Linked DNA regions of Homo sapiens: regions 1 and 2 are each linked to region 3. The links are contacts of gene promoters, found by promoter capture Hi-C in blood cells and fetal thymus (Javierre and others, 2016). All regions are on one chromosome and are shown on one strand. The core of a region is centred on a gene start or on the middle of the fragment in contact, and the rest is flanking DNA. Distances in the headings are between cores, read along the strand shown. Region 1 overlaps SPNS2 (SPNS lysolipid transporter 2, sphingosine-1-phosphate). Region 2 overlaps SPNS2 (SPNS lysolipid transporter 2, sphingosine-1-phosphate). Region 3 holds the start of C17orf107 (chromosome 17 open reading frame 107).

Region 1 (3,284 bases), core at 371-2,870, 360 kb after region 3:
AAGCAGCATCAGAAGGCTCTTCCCAAAAAGGGGGTCTTGGGCAAATCACCACTGTCCGCGCTGGCACGGAAAAAGGCAAGGCTGTCTTTGGTCATCAGGAGTCCCAGCCTGCTTCAGAGTGGGGCCAAGAAGAAAGCACAGGTGAGGAAGGCAGGGAAGCCCTGAGCACAGGTACGGGCCCCCCTCAGCCCCTGCCTCCATCTGCCTGAGACGCCTATTTTTTTTTTTTTTTTTTAAACCATGATTTTAATACGCAAGCTGTTTCTAAGGCGCTGCCACTGGGGAGGGTGGCTGTTGCCGCCTGCCCGGGCATCCTGCTCTGGCAAGCACAGCCTGAGCCATTCCTGCAGGGGTCCCAGGGTGCAGAGACCTCCCCACCCCCGGTTCTGGGCTGGGACCCTGGCTCCAGGGCCATGTCCAGGGCTCTGGTGTTTGCCTGGGTTGGTGCAGGTTGATGTGCTGGCTGCAGGCAGGTGTGACCATCTCTCGTGCCTGCCACCTCTTTGCCCCCAGGCTTTTTTGCTGTGAGGGAGCCACCAGGGGGTGATTTAAATAGGTTTATTTCTTCATTTACAAGAGGAATATATTTGGCTTCTCTCTTAAGACTCTGAGATTCACAATCAGCAGCTCTAAAAAATAAAGGAGCAGTTTGGCTTCCGGAAGGAAGAGGAGGCAACACTCGGACCTGGTTCTTGTACAACAAGAAAACATCGCTGGGGCCCCGCTGAGGCTGGAGTGGGGGTGGAGGCTGGTCTTTGGAGGATGCCACCCCCACCCCATCCTCTTGTCAGGCCCTCGGGGTACCCCAGAGCTTGGTGGGTGAGTATTCCACCTGCTTACACACCACTGAAGCCACAGCCAGCCAGTAACTAAGGGGCAAGAAGAGCATTGTCCAAGCTGGCTCTTGGGGGGTCCCCCATTGGCCACAAGGCCTCACCCCCCACCCCACCCCCGCACCAGAACCACCTTGATTGCAGCAGAAGTGCAGGGAGTGGGTGACGCAGGGGGCTAAGCTCCCCCAAAGCGGGTTGGGGCTGGTGTGAAGTTGGCAGCTGCATCCTGGTGTGTGCATGGATGGGAGGTGGGTGATCGAAGGCCTGGCCCCCCCCTGGGGTCACTTGGTGGAATGCCAGCAGCCAGTGTTTGGGTAGGGGCCGCCTCTCCCGGGGCCTCAGCCTCAGCTCTGGGGCAGGAAGCTTTGTGGATAGCTGCTTCCTCCAGCAGCCGGAGCCCTGGCTACTGCCCCATGGATTCTGGGAATGGTCTCCTGGGCCCTGCCCCTGGAAAAGGCTCAGCTCAGCCTCGGGGAAGGAGTGGGGTCCTGGCTTGGGGGGTGGTGGCAGGGAGAGAAGCCCTGCAGAGTTGGGCTGGTGTGCACCTGCCAGAGACCTTGAGCCTGGGGGCACAGGTGGTGTACAGCTGCAGCCAGGGCCTTCACCCCTGGTGATGCCAGCTTGTCAGAACAGTCCCCATCTGGGACCTCCAGGCTGGGAGCCAACCCGAGACAGTGAGACAGTGTCCTCCAGGGAGTACCCAGAGACTTGGGCGCCCAGCTTCATTTGCCAGGTTGCGTCCAATATCCCCAAGGTCCGAGGCCCAGCTGAGCAGTGGTCCCTGCATACCAGGCCCTCGCGTGAGCCTCAAAGCCGGGACTGCCGCCCTGAGGCCTGGGCCACCTGCTCTCCGTATGGTCCAGGGTCTGTTGAGTCTTCAAAGCTGCAGATCGTGCTTTGCCCAGCAAGTTGTGTGGGAAAGTCCAGCCCCCTGGCCCTTCGTTCCAGGGAGGGCAGGGACTTGCCCAAGATCACATAAGCTGGTGGCAGGCCAGGCTCTCCCCGGACACCCACTTGGGGCTGTCTTCTTCCTTGGCCCCAGGGGCCCTGCGGCCCAAACCTAGGGCTGGGAACCTGTCCAACCGTGTGGCTCCAACACACACATCCTTCCAGGGTAACTGAGGACACAGCCTCTTCTTGATGCCAGGGCCACTCAGCAGGCCTGGGCCAGAGAGGGTGGGTGCCTAGCCGTGGATCACACAGAAAGCTTTGGGGCAGCCCAGCCGGTCCCGGACGCTGTAGGACACCTCCCAGACGAGGTGGGAGTGTGGGTTCTTCATTGTCCCAATGGCACCTGGGGAAAGGGGTGTCAGGTCAGCAGTGGGGCTTAGTGGGGCCTGTGCCAAGGCTGCCCTCCCTCCTTCCCTTTTCTTGCTGTTTGGAGACGCAAGCCTTCTCCTGGACCTGCAGCTGTGACCCTGGGTCTCGTGCTGCTGGGAAGCTATAACTCCCAGAGGGAAGGGCCAAGGAGTCAGGCCCTGGTACATCCAGGAGGATTTGGGAGAACAGAAGTCCGGACAGAGTGAGGAGTTCCTGGCCAGTCCTGGCCCTGATCTATGCGAGGCCCCACCCAGCCCTTGAAAGGAAGGAAAGGGGAGCTAATTTACTGGAAGGAGCAGCCTGCTGTCCCACCCATGGCTCCATCAGTAAATTCTGGCAACATCTTCAGAGACAAAGCCCAGAGTTGGTGGGATGTGCTGGGGTAGGAGGTGACTCTGGAGGAAAAGTGCTCCCTGTTGCCTAACCCTGGCCTTCCCCTTTCCTTAGGGAGCCCCCACGTGCCTCCCGGCCTGCACTCACCACCTCAGACTTTCACAGATGCGGGCGGCATCGCCAGCTGGTTCACCCTGGGGGAGAGACGGGCGGGGGTCAGGGTGGTGCATCAGCGGGGGCCGGGCCCGGGCACTGCTCTGGCACATCGTGTCGTGGGGGCCAGCTGACCGGAGGTGCTGGGCAGGGACCTCGTCAGCCCCAGGGGGAGATGGGAGAGCCCAGGGGTGGGGAGAGGAGAGAGAGAGGAGTAAAGAGGAAAGGAGAAAGAAGTCAGAAAGTAAGAGGAAGGGGAGGGGCCCCAGCTTTGAAAACCACTAAGTCCAGAGACAAACCCAAGTCTGGATCCACCAGACACCCCCGTGGCCTCCCACAGCTCCAGGCTGACCCTGGCACTGGGCCTCAGGGCTGGACCCCAGCAACCAGTGGGTGCACTGAGTGCATGGGAGGTCTGTACCCTCCCCGCCCCACCCCAGGGCAGGGCTCACGGTGGCTATCACGGTCCCTGCTTCCCGGCGGTGCAGCAGGGCCTCCCCTCCCCCCCACTCACTGCTGCTCAGCCCTGGCGCGGTCGCTGACGAAGAAGAGCGCAGTGGCGAGGAAGAACATGCCGCCCAGGACCACGACGAAAGGGCAGAGCATGAGCGCGTAGCCCAGGCTCAGGAACTCCCAGAGCGGGGA
Region 2 (3,011 bases), core at 156-2,655, 380 kb after region 3:
GACCTCAAGTGATCTACCTGCCGCGGCCTCCCAAAGTGTGGGATTACAGGCGTGAGCCACTGCACCCGGCCACCACAATTTTAAATTGAGCGGTCAAAGTGGGTATTTCAGCCAGGACCTGGAGGAGGTAAGGAAACAAATCACGCAATTATTGGGGCAAGAACAGCAAGTGCCTAGGCCCTGGGGCAGGAGTTTACTTAGCATGTTGGAGGAGCAGGAAAGAGGCTGGGGTGGGGCCCCGGAGCCCACTGTGATGACTGTGACGTCCATGGGTGAGAAAGGAAAACATGAGGGGATGTCGAACAAAGGCCGTGACCTGGCTTTGTTCTTCCAGAACAAGAGGTTTAGAAGATTCCACAGGGAGGCCACTGCCAGTGATGGGAGGGGCCTTGGAGGTCCCAGGTGGGATGAAGAGGCCCAGAGCAAGGTAGGGTGGACCCTAGGTCACACAGCGAGGTGGCCCCCCATCCCTCCCCCTGGAAAGCAGTCCCACAGCTGATGGGCAGATGGCCAGACAAAGGCTGGGAGTGACAGACATGGCAGCCAGTTGGCCTCTGACCGCCAGGCTGAATGTGTGCGTGGTCCCGGCTGCTCCTCCGTGGGCCTGAGACCCTGGCGAGATGGGACCTGAGAGAAGAGAAAGAGGGAGGGAGGAAGGAGGAAAAGAGAGAGGTGAAAGAGAGGCGAGAGGGCCAGGCAGAGCTCCCCTGAACCTGGCTGGAGGAGTGACTGCCCCTCTTTTATGCCAGCAAGAACAGGCCAGTGAGTGCGCGTGGGTGGTGGGTGTACGAGCAGACCTGTTAATTCCAGAGGCCTTGGGGAGAATCAGCATGCGGGTGCACAAATCCGGGCATGAGGCACACTCCCTGGGCTCAAATTCACCTCCGCTCCTTCCCAGCCGGTGACCTCAGTCAGGCCACAGCCATTCTGTGTCTCACCTTCAGTGGTGTGCTGATATATGTTTAACTGGCTCTGATAAAGGGTGAGGGGAGCCCTGATGTGGCGTGTTTGCTCATTTCTTTTTTTTCTGAGATGGAGTTTCGCTCTGTCGCCCAGGCTGGAGTGCAGTGGCACCGTCTCAGCTCACTGCAATCTCTGCCTCCCGGGTTCAAGCGATTCTCTTGCCTCGGCCTCCCAAGTAGCTGGGATTATAGGCATCTGCCACCACGCCCGGCTAATTTTTGAATGTTTAGTAGAGACAAGGTTTTGCCATGTTGGCCAGGCTGGTCTCAAACACCTGATCTCAGGTGATCCTCCTGCCTCGGCCTCCCAAAGTGCTGGGATTACAGGGGTGAGCCACCGTGCCCGGCCGTGTTTGCCCATTTCTGTGGTGTAAACACTCCGCCCTGGCTGAGTTCAAGCTACCCACGTCGTGTCACTGATGGGCGTTGGAAAGGGATGTGCGGGGACACGCCATTGTCCAGTGTTTCTACCACACAAATAGAACAGACGCCACTCACCATAGGACCACAGATAACGCTGAAACACAGCAAAATAATTAGGAAGTGAGGACTTTTGAGTAGTTATTACCTTGTTTCTAATTATTTAATTGTAAGCCGATATCATTTAGTTTTTAACAATGGTTGTATTTTACGACTAGCTCACACACCATTCCTGAAATGTTAACAATTGACTCTCATGAGCTGGCCTGAGCCAGCGCCAACATGCCAGCATCCTCATCTGTAAAATGAAGATAAAAATAGCAGCTCTCCAGGGTGGGTCTGGGTGCTGGATAGCACGTGCAAGGTGCTTAATGCCACACCCTGCCCAGAGCAGGCCGGCCTTGGTCAACACTGGGCCCTTGTTTAAATTAGTCAAGGCAGAAATTATTTCCTCACATTTAGAAAAAGAATTTTTCCTGCTGGGCCTGCCTCCAAGGACCTGCCTGAGATCAGATCAGAATGTGGCAGGAGGGAGATTTCCAGTTGCATCAGGACTGACACATGTTGGGGGAGGAGGAGGAATTGTTCTCCCTGTGCCTGTCTGTGCTAGGTGGCAAGTGGACAGAAGGAATCAGAAGAGAAGTTTCCCCCTGTCTGGCCAGGGGCAGATCTTGTTCATAGGTTGCTCTGTTTAAAGGACAACCTATGTTGGGGAACCACCAAGGAGCTCCAGATCCTGCCAGGATAATGAAGAGAGGCTTCCCGGAGGCGGTGGTGACAAAGCTGGGCACTGAAGCATGCATAGGAGTTTACCGCTAAGATAATACTTAACATCAAGAATATACGCTGAAATATAAACTTCAGATCAGCAATATTGTATAATGGTTCACGAGGCATGATGCTTAGTGTTCATGATAACTGCAGTTATTATTTATGGATATATAGGCAAGGCCCAGCATGCAGCCTTGACATATGCACAGATGATCTCTTTTGATTCTGTTCTCTTCATTTTACAGAGGAGACAATGGAGGCCAAAAGAAGTGATGTCACACAGCGAGTGTGCGGCTGAGCCAGAATTTAAATCCCAGTTTGGCAGACTCCAGAGTCCTTGCTCTAAATCACTCCCCAGACTGCCATGCTGGGAAGGGGGAAGGTCCCAGCTGATGTTCCCAAGGTCAGGGAAAGTTCAGGGCCTGCTGAGGACAGCAAGGAGACAGGTCAGGCCATGGCCTGAGGATGCTCAAGAGGAAGCAGCGAGAGATGAGGCTGTGGAGGGAGGACTGGGCTAAAGACCAGGACAGGGTTTGGTGTTTAGAAGGCGGCAGAGAACCACAGCGCGCTCTCTCCACCCCGCCCCCCAACACCATGGTAGGATCCTTGAAAAAGCCCCCTCCCGGGGGGGTGACGAGGGACTGGAGGGACGTGACCCAGACCTTCGCCAGACCCCGGCCATCATGCTCCATTCTCTCCTCTTGCCCACAGTGGAGCAGGAAGCACGGGCCCTTCTTAGCTCTTTCAACCCCTCCCTGGTTTCTGGCTCCTCACTTAGATGGGCAGAAGTCCCCAGGACTGCAGGTGGACTCCTGGCAGAAGCTGGCACGCCCCGTCCCCACCCACCGGCCCCAGCCT
Region 3 (2,500 bases), core at 1-2,500:
CGGAGCCCCCGCGGGGGTGTGGCCAGTGTGAAGGGTGGGGGCGTGGCCAAAACCCAGAGACCCCGGGAAAAGCTCTGGCTGTCTCGCCCCGCCCTGGGCTTTATTCGGACGCTGGGTGGGGCTGGTACGGGGATGGAGTCCCTGGTCCGCCGTCCTCCTCACTGCTGCTGGACGTCACCTGGAGGTCTCCCGAGTAGCTCTCTTGGGGGACAGTCCGGCTCAGTGCCTCCCTAGCCCCGCCGCCTCTGGCCCCTAACTCACCCCGTGTCCTGAGCTCACCGGTTCTCCGGGGATTCCGAGGCCTAGCTGCTGTTGCGACTGTCGCAGGAATGAGGCAGACCCCTGCAGACCCCGTCCACACAGGCATAGCCATGCTCCCTGGACTAGGAGCCGGGCGCTGGCGCCCACCGCAGCCCCAGCTTGCCGAACCCCCTGCCCTGCGGCTTGGGCTACCCGGCTCAGCGCTGCACCCGGATCCCTGCCGTCTGGGGCTGGGCCCGCGCTGCCGTCTAGTCGCCGCGCCTCCTGCTGCAGCCACAGGGCTGAGATCTGCATTGGGGGCACAGGGGTTAGCGGGGAGGCAGAGGTCCTTGTTCCCGCTACCCGATCGCCGCGTATCCTAAGCCCCCCAGTACCCCACCTCTAACAAGGTGGTGCCGAAGCTCACGAGGCTGGCTGTGGCTTCTCTCAACACCAGCCCCAGGGTGGGCTTCGGGGCAGGCAGCATCCCCTGCATCTTCGGTTCGGGTGGCTCCAGGGACTTCAGCTCTCTGAACCTCTGCTCCAGATATTCATGGGCTGCGGCCACGGAGAGTTCCAGGGAAGACAGAAGCGGGGGCTGGAGGGCCACCTGGAGAAGGAGCAGAGCAGTAGAGTAGCAGGGCAGGGGTCACAGGGGCGAACAGGAGACCTACCCAGAAGGTCTCGAGGTGCAGCCCTTGGCGGGCGTAGCCTCACCTCGGTGGAGCTGTGGAAGTGGTAGATCCACATCAGGGTGTCCAGGGAGCTGGGGGTCCCCTTCATGGCCGCCACAAGTGGTAGGACAGGAGAAGGGCTGGGGGACGCGTCTGTCGTCGTGTAGGGGGCGCAGCTGGAGGGCGTAACCAGCCCGTACCAGGAGAAGCCGTGTTTGTGAGGTCAGCGCGCGGCGCCTTCGGTAGCTGGGAGGAGGAACGGTGATGTCATGCCTTCCGGGCTCCTCAGGTTCCTTATTTTCGTCATGGTGGTCGCCACGCTCATTGTCATGAATTGCGTCATCGTGCTCAACGTGTCCCAGCGGACGCCCACCACCCACGCCATGTCCCCGCGGCTGCGCCACGTAAGCGCGGAGGGGGCGGTGCAGCCCGGGTCGGGGTGGGGCTTCGTACTAACCTCGTCCCCTAAGCCCCGCCCCTGCCCCAGGTTCTCCTGGAGCTGCTGCCGCGCCTCCTGGGCTCCCCGCCGCCGCCCGAGGCCCCCCGGGCCGCCTCGCCCCCAAGGCGGGCGTCGTCGGTGGGCTTATTGCTCCGCGCGGAGGAGCTGATACTGAAAAAGCCACGGAGCGAGCTCGTGTTTGAGGGGCAGAGGCACCGGCAGGGGACCTGGACGGGTGAGCACAGTGGCCCTGGCCCGGGGGGCCGCGCGGGGTGCCTGCCAGGGGGGAGGCTCCTAAGGCCCACCCCGGTGTTTTCCCCGCCAGCTGCCTTCTGCCAGAGCCTGGGCGCCGCCGCCCCCGAGGTCCGCTGCTGTGTGGATGCCGTGAACTTCGTGGCCGAGAGCACGAGAGATCAGGAGGCCACCGGCGAGGTGGGACAGGAGCCAGAGGCGGGTGGAGCGAGGCAGAGGCCCACCACTGTCTCCCATGCCGCTGGCTCCTGCAGCTGCCTCTTTACTGACTGTGCCGACCCTTCCCCAGGAAGTGTCCGACTGGGTGCGCATGGGGAATGCCCTTGACAACATCTGCTTCTGGGCCGCTCTGGTGCTCTTCAGCGTGGGCTCCAGCCTCATCTTCCTCGGGGCCTACTTCAACCGAGTGCCTGATCTCCCCTACGCGCCGTGTATCCAGCCTTAGCTCGCACCGACTTCAATTTCCCACCCATCTCCAGTAGGAAATTGATTTTGAAAAAGTAGGCTGCCGCCACCACGGCATTATGATCCCTTCCCCCTGCTGATCAATCTGCAGTTTGTGAACTTCACAAGAATGGTGTGTGCCCGTTCCCTGGCGTGTGTAGGCCTGGCCGCAGTCCAGGGGTCAGCAGGAGGAAAGGGTTCACATAGGCTCTCAGGTGCCAGTCTTCCAGAAAGCAAGGACTGCCCTTCATTCAGCCTTGCTGACCTCCCAGCCTTTCTAAGGCTCAGCCCCACGGGACTCTGGTGGCTGCCAGCTTGTGAGCTATCTATCTATATTCATTTCATAGCCAAACAGGAGACCCCTTTGCAGGACTTGCACACAGGGAGGCTGTAGCCAGGAAACCCTCTTCTTCCCTGGTCTGGCTCTGCTGGAGCGGGTGGGAACCAAACA

Evidence for each region. The method cuts DNA at HindIII sites, captures the fragments that hold promoters and counts their contacts. A CHiCAGO score of 5 or more calls a contact.
Region 1: a contact is called between a fragment that was not itself captured here and the fragment with the promoter of C17orf107 in region 3, in 1 of 17 cell types (neutrophils). The highest score is 5.5, in neutrophils.
Region 2: a contact is called between a fragment that was not itself captured here and the fragment with the promoter of C17orf107 in region 3, in 1 of 17 cell types (neutrophils). The highest score is 6.3, in neutrophils.

The regions. Positions count from the first base shown.
Region 1 is chr17:4,536,296-4,539,579 of GRCh38, reverse strand. It overlaps SPNS2 (SPNS lysolipid transporter 2, sphingosine-1-phosphate), which reads right to left. Exons shown (of 13, transcript NM_001124758.3): 11 at 3,154-3,284; 12 at 2,634-2,680; 13 at 545-2,127. The coding sequence ends at 2,638. MYBBP1A (MYB binding protein 1a) reads left to right here. Exons shown (of 26, transcript NM_014520.4): 26 at 1-676. The coding sequence ends at 165. Among named protein-coding and RNA genes, the nearest start is that of MYBBP1A, 17 kb to the left of the region's middle. The HindIII fragment of the contact is 844 bases long and covers 1,199-2,042 here.
Region 2 is chr17:4,520,217-4,523,227 of GRCh38, reverse strand. All of the region lies in intron 2 of SPNS2 (SPNS lysolipid transporter 2, sphingosine-1-phosphate), which reads right to left. Among named protein-coding and RNA genes, the nearest start is that of SPNS2, 23 kb to the right of the region's middle. The HindIII fragment of the contact is 4,155 bases long and covers 1-3,011 here.
Region 3 is chr17:4,898,286-4,900,785 of GRCh38, reverse strand. C17orf107 (chromosome 17 open reading frame 107) reads right to left here and starts at 1,250. Exons shown (of 3, transcript NM_001145536.2): 1 at 958-1,250; 2 at 641-850; 3 at 1-549. The coding sequence starts at 1,023. The coding sequence ends at 253. It overlaps CHRNE (cholinergic receptor nicotinic epsilon subunit), which reads left to right. Exons shown (of 12, transcript NM_000080.4): 9 at 1,204-1,318; 10 at 1,402-1,588; 11 at 1,679-1,785; 12 at 1,895-2,500. The coding sequence ends at 2,050. RefSeq lists an enhancer at 864-1,173 and silencers at 1,374-1,483, 1,504-1,653. The HindIII fragment of the contact is 47,734 bases long and covers 1-2,500 here.